Regions from separate parts of the Homo sapiens genome. Here region 2 is linked to region 1. The links are contacts of gene promoters, found by promoter capture Hi-C in human tissues and cell types (Jung and others, 2019). All regions are on one chromosome and are shown on one strand. The core of a region is centred on a gene start or on the middle of the fragment in contact, and the rest is flanking DNA. Distances in the headings are between cores, read along the strand shown.

Region 1 (4,898 bases), core at 2,399-4,898:
ATGCCACTCTTATCTGTCACGCCCCCTTCGATGGAGGAAGTGGCGCTCTCATCGCCAGCATCTGTGGCAGACGCTTCTGCTTTTCCCTGACTGCCTGCCACCATGGTGGCCAGTCCATCTCCTGGAGTCCGTTCCAGAGCTTGCTGGGCCTGCTCCTGGCTGGCGGCCTCCTGGGCCGCCCTGGGTGTGGCTTCACCTTGCAGAGCAGCTTGCTTCAACCTGCGGGACTCTGGCTTGGCCATCGGGTTTCCACTCGAGGACGGTGACCAACCTGCAGCTCCTCTGCTGGTGGCGGCACTCGAGTGTCCCCTCACACCCCCTGTGGCCTTGCTGGCATCTTTTCTCCGGGTGCGGCCATGGCCTCCAGCCCCCCTCTTCTTCTCGGTCAGGTGGAAGATGGATGGCACGGCCGTGGGCTTCAGCAGGCGATGCTGGTCCTCCAGCCTCTTGGAGAAGCTGTCTTTGGTGAAATGCTCACTACAGAGAAATGAATACTTAGTGGGAGTCCAGTTATCCCTCTGAACAGCTTTTAACCATTGGATTAGACGTTTTGAGTCCTTTAGGGGGAACCTACAGGACAAATGACAAAAAGTAATTAGAAATAATTAAATGTCTCCCCTTAAAATAATCAACTGTAAAAGCAAAACAAGTATTTTTGCACGCACCCTAAGCCGTATTGACTTCATCCACTTAAAAAAATACTTCAAAAAGATTTAAAGAACATCTTCTACCTGCAGTTATTACTGGAGTAGAAATCTGAAAGACCCGTTGTCTACCCATACAGAGCTTATAGTCTGTAGGGCGGATGGGAAAGAAGGTAACCAACTGCTCCCCAGGCTGTGGTAAATGCCCAATGGGGACACAGGATGCTGACAGACAGTGCCAGGATGGCCTCAGGACAGCAGGAAATAGCTCCTAGAAGCTGACTGCTAACCAACCCTCCCAACTTGCCTGGAAGGTAGGACTCTGGGTACCAAAACCAGGGCCAGCATCCACAGACACTAGGGCGTGAGAGGTCAGGACTGCATGGAGGCAGCCCTGGCTGTGCGCAAGCAGCTGAGAATCTGGAGACCTCCAGAAGACTCCAGAGCTACAGTTCTGTGTTCCTGTTGCATGCCCACCTCCAGGAGTAAAAATGCTCCTTTTAAAAGTCAACCAGCCCAGGGACAGGGCACAATGGTGCTCACCTGCAGTTCCAGTTACTTGGGAGCCTGAGGCTTGAGGGTTCTTTGAGCCCAGAAATTCGAAGTTACAGTGAGCTAAGACTGCACCACTGCTCCCCATCCTGGGGAACAGAGTGAAACCCGGTCTTCTCCCCTCAAAAAAAATCAACCAACTCAGATGATCCTTGAGGACATTATACTGAATGAAATAGGGCAGGTGCAAAAAAACAAACACTGCATGATACCACTCACATGAGGTACTCAGAGTAATCAAATTCATAGAGACAGGAGAATGCGGGTTCCCAGAGCCTAGGGAGAGGAGGACTGGGGTATTAATGTTTAATGAGTCCAGAGATTCCGCTTTACAAAATAAAAATAATTCTGGAGGTGGATGGTAGTGACAGCTGCACAACAACGTGAATGTATTTGTTGCCATGAATTGTACACTGAAAAAGCGGTAGGAAAGGCTGGGAGCCGTGGCTCATGCCTGTGATCCCAGCTACTCTGGAGGCTGAGATGGGAGGACCACTTGGGTCCAGGAGGCTGAGGCTGCAGTGAGCTACGGTCATACCATTGCACTCCAGCCTGGGTGACAGAGTGGGACTCTGTCTCCAAAAAAAGTTAGGATGGTAAATTTCATGTTACATGTATTATACCATAATTTAAAAATGGTGAGAAAAAAGCAACCAGCGCAGGAAGATACTGAATAGGATGTTTAGTCATTTCTTTATTACCTAATAAAGATCCTTCATAACCATTTCTTCATTAAGGCAAACTCTGTGTTTAAGAACATAGGCCTGGGCCGGGCGGGGTGGCTTATGCCTGTAATCCCAGCACTTTGGGAGGCCGAGGCGGGTGGATCACTTGAGGTCAGGACTTTGAGGCCAGAGTTCGAGACCAGCCTGGCCAATATGGTGAAACCCTGTCTCTACTAAAAATACAAAAAAATTAGACAGGCGTGGTGGCGCTTGCCTGTAATCCCAGCTACTTGGGAGGCTGAAGCAGGAGAATAGCTTGAACCCAGGAGCGGGGGTTGCAGTGAGCCGAGATCGCACCAATGCACTCCAGCCTGGGCGACAGAGGGAGACTCCTTCTCAAAAAAAAGAGAAAAAAAGAAAAAAAAACCAGGCCCTAATGTGCACATAAGGGACAGGGTGGTCAGTTCTAACTGCTATTTGCTCCACCTGAGGCCAGTGTGGACCAGGACAAATCCTAACAGGATGGACTGGGCCGTTCTAAGCAACAGGACCTTCTAACCTCCTTTCTGAACACTGTGAGGCCAACTGCAAAGGTACCCCCCCACCCCCAATTCCGATGTCCTTTCCTCCCATACCATGTTAGACCGTTGCAACACGTTGCCTCGTTTTCAAAAAACAATAACAAAACTTCTAGGACACAAGCTCTGAAGGAAATTGTCAAGAAAGTGCGCTGGCTGACTTGTGAAATAATCTAATGTTACTAATTCTTATAATACATTGTAATGATTTAAGACTTACAGCAAACTACTGTGAACTTTCAATAACCCTATAAATAACACGTGCCATTCCCGTCTTTAAAACTTAAATAACACCATGCAACATAAAACAGAAACATCTCCAAAGTGGTTTTTAAAGTCTGTTCGCGGTTCTGGTGCCTCCCGCGTGTAATCCGCAGAAATCTCACTGAAATAGGCTGAACTCACAAGGCCTTAGAGGGGTTTGGGCCCTGCCGCGGGGGCCCACGTGGGAAGCGGCCGAGAGCCCCGGGCCAGGCTCTAAGGGAGCGCAGGAGGATGCCGTCCCCAGCCGGCCGTCCCGTAGACTCTCCGCGCGTACCCGCGTCCTGGGCTCGGGGGCCCAGTCCCGGAAAGCCCTCTCGGGGGCTGTCAGCTACGGAGGCGCAGGTCGCGTCTGCCCGGTCGCTCCTGCTCGCAGACATCCAGGCCGACGGCCCGCGCGGTCCGGAGAGTCAGCAGTCGCGGCCGAGCAGGACAATCGGCCCAGGACCTGCGCTTCCAGAGCGTGCGGCTTCTGAAGCCTAGGCGCCGGCCGGATCGATCGCGCGCAGGGCGGACCCAGGCGGCCGGGGTGGGGGCGGCTGCGCTGCCCGAGGCGCCCGGCCCAGAGACGGCGGCCGGGCCAAGGTCACACAGCGCCCACGCCCGCTCCCCCGCGCCCCGGCCGCCGAGGCCCGGCGCCCCCGCCCCCCGCGTTCGGGCCGGCCGCGGGGCCTCAGTTTCCCCGCAGGGCCGGGTCGGGGCGGGGGCGTGGCGGCCCGGGGCCCGCGTACCTGTGGAAGGAGACGGCGCGCTTCTCGCCCTTTCCCTGCCGGTTGGAGCAGTTCACGGCCGCACAGCAGATCACCATCGCGGGCCTTGGCCCAGCCGCGCAGCCAGGCCCCGGCCCTAGCCGCCCGCCCGCCCGCGGACCGCCCCGAGGGAGGGAGCGCGGCGGCGACACGGCTCGGGACGTGGGCCGGCCCGCGGCGTCCGCGCCGTACGGCAAGATGGAGGCGCAGGCGCCCGCAGCGGGCCCGCCCCCGCCCCAGCCCCCGCCCGCGTCCTCGCCAGCCGCGGGTTCGGGCGTCTTCGGACCAGCGGGGCGCCGCAGGCCCCTCGCAGCGTCCGTCGGCAGGCGGGCAGACGGGCGGGGGAGTCGCCCCGGCGGGGCAAGTCCGTACCGCGACATGGGCGCGCCGAGCACGTCCGTACCGCAAGATGGCTGCTCGGACGGGGACAGAGCTCGCCTCTGCCGCCTCGACAACTGCTCCTGGGTCCTCTAAGAGGAGGAAGCGCCACCCATGGCACACAGTGTCCCGTCGGACAGCAGAACCAGCCGTCGTCCCACGACACGACCCCATGCCGCCCGCAGGGCGCCCCGGGGCTCGCGTCGGCCCGGCCGTACGCCAAAATGGCGGCTCCCGCGTATTTCCGCTCGCGCGCCGTATCGTCTTCGCCGCCTGCGCCGGCACACCTATTGGCCCCCGCGGCGTCCCGTCGCCGCGTCGCGTTGCTGGCCCGTCGGAGCGACGCCGCTCGGGTCAGTCGGCGGCCGGACTGGGAAGATGGACGCAGGTGAGGAGTTGCCGGGGGTCGGTCTTTCCGCAGGAGGTGCTCGCCTTATCATTGGCCTCCCCTGCTCGGGTCGGGCTGCCGCGACTCGCCTCGGGGCACGCCGGTGCGGGCCAGGCTGGGCCGGGGCGGCGGGCGCTGCGGGAGCGCGGGGCGGTGTTGGTGGGTGGTGGGCGGTGGGAGCGGGAGGGGGACGGCGGCGCACTGCGCCGCGGAACCCGCCGTCGGTTGCGCTGGAGCTTCTGCTTTTCCGGTCCCGTCCGGAGCGCTCCGGAGGTTGTGGCTGCACAGGCCCTTGCGCCAGGTCGGCCGTGGAGGGCGGCGGAGCCTGCCGGGCGGGGAGAGGCGCGGCGGCGAACGGGGCGGCCGCGGTCCGGGCCGGGGACGCGAGCGGCGGGCGAAAGCGTAGCCTTTCCGCAGCTGAGCGTGAAGGGATGGAAGCTCTTTAACTTTTATGAAGTTATTGGTAGGTTGGAGGAGAGAAACGTGACGTGTTCATCACAGTATACGTATCTTTTTTGTTTTTGTCTTCAATTTAGTAACCAGTAGATTCTCCAAGCTGCTTTTCCGTGACGAGAAAGAGAAACAGTGAATTTGTATCATCGGGTCTTAGTTTCTTGGGGTCCTAAGAGAGAGAGAAAGAGAAGGAGTGTGTGTGTGTGTGTATAGGGAGTGTTGGTTTTTTT
Region 2 (4,898 bases), core at 2,363-4,862, 1.1 Mb before region 1:
ACACCCATCACACTGGGCCAGGGCTGGGACTGAGTTTTGGAGGCCCACAAACAGGGACAAGCACGATGGGGTGACAGGGGGACCTCGTGAGATGCTGCAGTGAGACTCCAGGGCAGCCCCTGGCTGTGAACAACAGAGCTGTGAAGATGGAGACAGCTTGGGAGCCCCATCTCGTGAGGGAAACGTTCCCTCCCTCCACTAGGCGGCGACACGGGTGGCAGAGTGTGCAGGCAGGAAGGGACATGAGAAGGTTCCAATTACCATCTATTGTCGTTTTCCTCAGTAGGTTGCTGACACAGTGTTGAGGCTTTCAGATTTCTCCAGAAACTAGTTTCTCAGGGAGTAACACAGTTCAGGGATTTTTACTGCTTGCCTTAAGGAGAATCCCGGCTAACCCTGGGCCCCAGGTCAGGGTCGGACCTCCCCGCTGGAGGGTCCCCCGCACCTTGTGGCGAAGACAGCGTAGTTCTTCAGGGACCCCGGCTCCTCGGCAGCAGGGGTCTCGCCGCCCTTCCCCTCTAGCGGGCGTTGGCGGCTGCCAGCCCCAGAGACTTCGTCCTCTAAGCTAAGGGAGGCATGGGCCCCTTCCATGTCTGTGGTCTTCCAACCTGCAAGCGACGTCAGGACCGCACATGTGCCCCCAGGGCTCCCGCCGCGAACTCAGAGGGCGCCCGAGGCCCGGCCCGCGGCCCCTGAGCCTCAGAGAACCCAAGCCCCTCCCTGAACCGCGCCGGAGCCTGGGCCGCCACCCACAGGTCCCGGACCACCATCCCTGGGAGTCCTCAGGGAGACCTGTCGGAACCATGGGTAAACTTCACCCGCGTCCCCAGGTGTCCCTGTCCCTTCGTGGGCGGGAATCACAGCAAGGGCGGTCGCGGCCACGTGGCCAGGCCAGGCCCGCACCCACTATCGCCCAGGAGGCGCCGCTAACAGCGGGTCTCAGCCACGGGCCTCTGAAGCCAGCGCTCGAGGGTGGGCTCGGGAGACGCCGCGCCCACCTAACCCCACGCCCCCAGCCCCTCGGCCCCTCCCTGGGGTGGGGACCGCGAGCCTGGCGCCCCCCCGCACCCGCCGCCCCACGGAGCTCCGGGATCCCCCTAGCCCCGGCTCCCAGCGCTCCTGTCGCGAGACCGCACCAAGCAAGACTCGAAGAGCTCGCGCCGGACAGCAGGGAGACCGACGGGACTGCAGCCACCGCGGACGCCCGCGCTCCCGTCCCGACTGCTTGCCAGCCCTGCGCCTACGGAGAGCGTCGCGTTTCCCTGGAGACAGCCCCGCCCCATGCCCGCTGCCACTCTCCGGCTCCGCCAATCCCCCCGCCAGGACGCACCCGGCCCCGCCTCCGGGCGTGCCCGCCCTCTGTGACTTCAGGGGCTTGGGGCCGACACCCCGCGGGCCTCGGTGCCAGCCTCCCGCTTACCCGGTCAGCCCCTGGGCCGAGTACCCCTGGGAGAGAAAGCGCTAAATTCCCCCAACACTCCCGTGATGGGGGCACAGGGAGCGCCGTGGGACACCTGAGGAAACTGAGGCCCAAGTGTTAATTAACTTGCCCTGATCACCTAGCACGTGGAGCCACGACTTGCTCAAGCCCTGCCTGATTCCAGCCCCGGCCTTTGTTCATTCAGTAAATGTGGAAGGCGCAAGGGTAACTCGAGGCCTGCGGAGGGAACGAGATGAGGGAGGCCGCAAGAGTCACCGCAGAGAAGAGGGATTGGCTGTCTTGGACCCTCCGAGGGCCTCGGGGAAGGACTGCAGGAGAGCGGATTCTTGATGGGGCTTCACAGGATGCGCAGGAGCTCTCCAGGCTACAGAGCGCATTTCAGGAACTGGACTGGGATGTACAGAGGCACCATGGTGGGAAACAGCTGGGCCTTCCTGCAAAGAGGGGAGAGGCTCTTGGAGGTGCAGGGCTTGCGTTTTCTCAACCCAGACTGCCTCTGAGAACAGGGCAGGGGGTGTGAAGAGCTGATGCCCTGGCCCTCCCCACTGGCTAGCTTTCCGGGGACTAAGGACTAAGGCTGGGCCAGGATTCTGGGGTTCTAGGGGCTCTGCCTCCACACGCCAGTGCCTGTCTGTTGAGTTCACTTCTCTCTAAAATCTCATTTTACACCACGACCCAGTACAAACCACTCAGAAAAATGTTTCATTAAAAGTTCGGCATACTACATGCATGCACTCTAATATTTTCATGTAGTCTATTATTTCTCTAAAAACTAAAATGCTGATCATGACCCACAGAATTGATTTCACAACCCACATTAGTTGTGAATTACAACTTGCTAAGGAGTCAGAACCAACATGTAGAAACCCTCTGTTCTTAGCAAGCACATTCTGGTTACACTGTGGGGGACTAGCACCAAGTCCAGGAGACAGAGGCTGGCCCAGACTAAGTGTGGCAATGAGATGCAGAGACACTTAGGATGAATTGGTTCCCAATCCATTACCTCAATGGAGTGGGAGCATGATGGTTCAAGTAGCAGGCTTTGGAGCAGAAAACCCACCTCAACCATCCTCCAACCGTAAAGGGTGATGATGATTCATGAAACAGTCCAGGAGGAGGAGGGACTTCAGGTTTTGTTTGATTCATTTCAGTGGCCCAACAGTGGCATCAAGGACCTTGGCTCTCCCATCTCCTCTGCTTTCACCCAAGGCTGGCTTCCCCTTATGGCCATGAGAGAACAGAGGAGCCTTCCAAAGTGCTCTCTCCTTCATGGGTTATTAGACACCAAGCTCATTCCCAGAGCAGTCACGGGAGTGTGGCCTTCACTTTTGGCCAGAGACAGAGCCAACTCCTAGAAAGCGGAGGGAGACAGTGTCCCAACCTAATCAATGGCTCCCATGAACGCCAGGGAAAAAAAGGGAATTCCACTCCTCCATCCTAGGAAAGTTGGAGTCCTTCCTTAGGGTGGAGGAAGTGGGAAACAGATGCTGATAAGACCTCCACGGAGGTGATGTCTGGAGCTGCAACCAGGGAAGACCTGGCTGCAGACATATTTGAGTCTTTAGCTCAAGAGTGAACCCCAGGCTGCAATAAAGATCTGACAGTTACCAATGCTAGAAGGCTGATGGACAAAGCAATGACGATAACCCAGAGAGAGACTGTATGCAACTGAAACTTCAATTGCTAAATGTCTGTAGGGCTGTTGAGACAGTTGCTTTTCAGTGTATCCATTGCCTGAAAATTACCAGATGTCAGAAAAATTGAAGGAGTCTTAAATGGCAATTTCATGGACATTAAGTGATATTAAATTTTTTAAAGTTACAATGCTGACCCCAATAAATTACTTAGAAACAGCAAAAGGAATAGTGTGGTCTATGAAGAAGTGATGAAAATAGAAATTAGTTTTATTTTATGAGCCATGTGTTATAATACATAGAAAAAAATGCACCAATTACAAAGCGGGCCACAAAAAGGAATAAACGTAAAGCCGACAACGCAGTCACTAGGGAAAGGGTGAAGACACGGGAACCACGCAGCCCGCCGTCCACGTGCACCGGGTAGCCACGGGGCCCTAGCCGAACGACGCGGACGCGAAGTGGGCGGGCCCGGCCAAGCCACGCCTCCGCGCCAGACGCCGCAGTAGAGCGGGCAGGGCGCTGCGCCCAAGAGCCACAGACGCAAGCCCAGTGCCACAGGCCGCGGGGGCGGGGAGGACGGCGCCCGGGGACAGAGAACATGGGACGCAGAGCGGTCCAAGGCCCCGGCGCCCTGGTGAGGCCCAAACCTCCCGCCATGCCCCGGCCCCAACGAGACCCAAGCCCCCTGTCCCGGCCCAGCGCCCGCGGGGGACCCAAGCCCCAGCCTGGTCCACCTCGGAGGCCTCTAGGACCCGGGGGCGCCCGGCGGCCCGCCCGGCTCCCACAAATAGACTCCTGGGCGGGCGCCTGAGCCCCCAAAATAGATCCTCAGGGCCCAAAAGCAGACTCTTCGGCGGGCGCCATGGGACCGGCAGAAGCTGGGCGCCGCGGGGCCGCCTCGCCCGTACCTCCACCGTTGGTGCGCGTCGCGCCCTCACTCTTCCTCGGGAGCGCGCGAGCCGCGGGCGCGGAGGAGCAGCTGGCGCGCGCGGGAGTCACGCTGTGCGTCAACGTCTCCCGCCAGCAGCCCGGCCCGCGCGCGCCCGGCGTGGCAGAGCTGCGCGTGCCCGTGTTCGACGACCCGGCTGAGGACCTGCTGGCGCACCTGGAGCCCACGTGCGCCGCCATGGAGGCCGCGGTGCGCGCCGGCGGCGCCTGCCTAGTCTACTGCAAGAACGGCCGCAGCCGCTCGGCCGCCGTCTGCACCGCGTACCTCATGCGGCACCGCGGCCTCAGCCTGGCGAAGGCCTTCCAGGTGGGCGGGCCTTTAGGGGGGCGGTGTTTCGAGAGGGGCGTGTCTTCCGGGGACGAGTTTTCCGGGCGGGGCCGGCTTCGGGATTGGGACAGGCACTTCCGGGAGGGGCGGGTCTCTCTCGTGAGGGCGGGCTTAGGGAAGCAGAGAGGCACTTCCGGGTTGGGCGGGGCCCACTCTTACAGCTGGGCCCGCCTTGGCCCCTGCTGGCCATTAGCGCGACTTGGGGTTATTCAGTACACTTCTTGTTTGCAGATGGTGAAGAGCGCTCGCCCGGTAGCAGAACCGAACCCGGGCTTCTGGTCTCAGCTCCAGAAGTATGAGGAGGCCCTCCAGGCCCAGTCCTGCCTGCAGGGAGAGCCCCCAGCCTTAGGGTTGGGCCCTGAGGCTTGAAGCTTGAAGGCCTGCTGCCTGGAGGAAGGATGTCCCTGCACTGATACAGAAGGCTGGTCTTTACCCTTCTTCCTCACTGTCATATCGAGTTTTCCTTTGTGTGTGTGTGTGTGAAACATAGTGCTTTTAATTTTATATTTCCGGCTGAGGTGATGCACAAATTATCTTACAGACA

The links. Contacts are between HindIII fragments. The study calls those that stand out against the background at their distance.
Region 2: a contact is called between the fragment with the promoter of DUSP28 here and the fragment with the promoter of THAP4 in region 1, in 1 of the 25 tissues and cell types used here (H1 embryonic stem cells).

What each region holds. Positions count from the first base shown.
Region 1 is chr2:241,633,510-241,638,407 of GRCh38, forward strand. It overlaps THAP4 (THAP domain containing 4), which reads right to left and starts at 3,649. Exons shown (of 6, transcript NM_015963.6): 1 at 3,432-3,649; 2 at 1-570. The coding sequence starts at 3,508. It overlaps ATG4B (autophagy related 4B cysteine peptidase), which reads left to right and starts at 4,184. Exons shown (of 13, transcript NM_013325.5): 1 at 4,184-4,215. The coding sequence starts at 4,206. RefSeq lists silencers at 3,172-3,311, 3,382-3,451, 3,482-3,831, 4,202-4,251, 4,272-4,461 and 1 more and an enhancer at 3,805-4,732. The HindIII fragment of the contact is 20,762 bases long and covers 1-4,898 here.
Region 2 is chr2:240,556,745-240,561,642 of GRCh38, forward strand. DUSP28 (dual specificity phosphatase 28) reads left to right here and starts at 3,613. Exons shown (of 2, transcript NM_001370465.2): 1 at 3,613-4,333; 2 at 4,586-4,898. The coding sequence starts at 3,941. The coding sequence ends at 4,723. ANKMY1 (ankyrin repeat and MYND domain containing 1) reads right to left here and starts at 1,244. Exons shown (of 18, transcript NM_001282771.3): 1 at 1,137-1,244; 2 at 446-608. The coding sequence starts at 591. RefSeq lists enhancers at 71-140, 4,198-4,339, 4,372-4,441, 4,472-4,831 and silencers at 1,184-1,403, 3,462-3,871, 4,052-4,101. The HindIII fragment of the contact is 5,674 bases long and covers 1,442-4,898 here.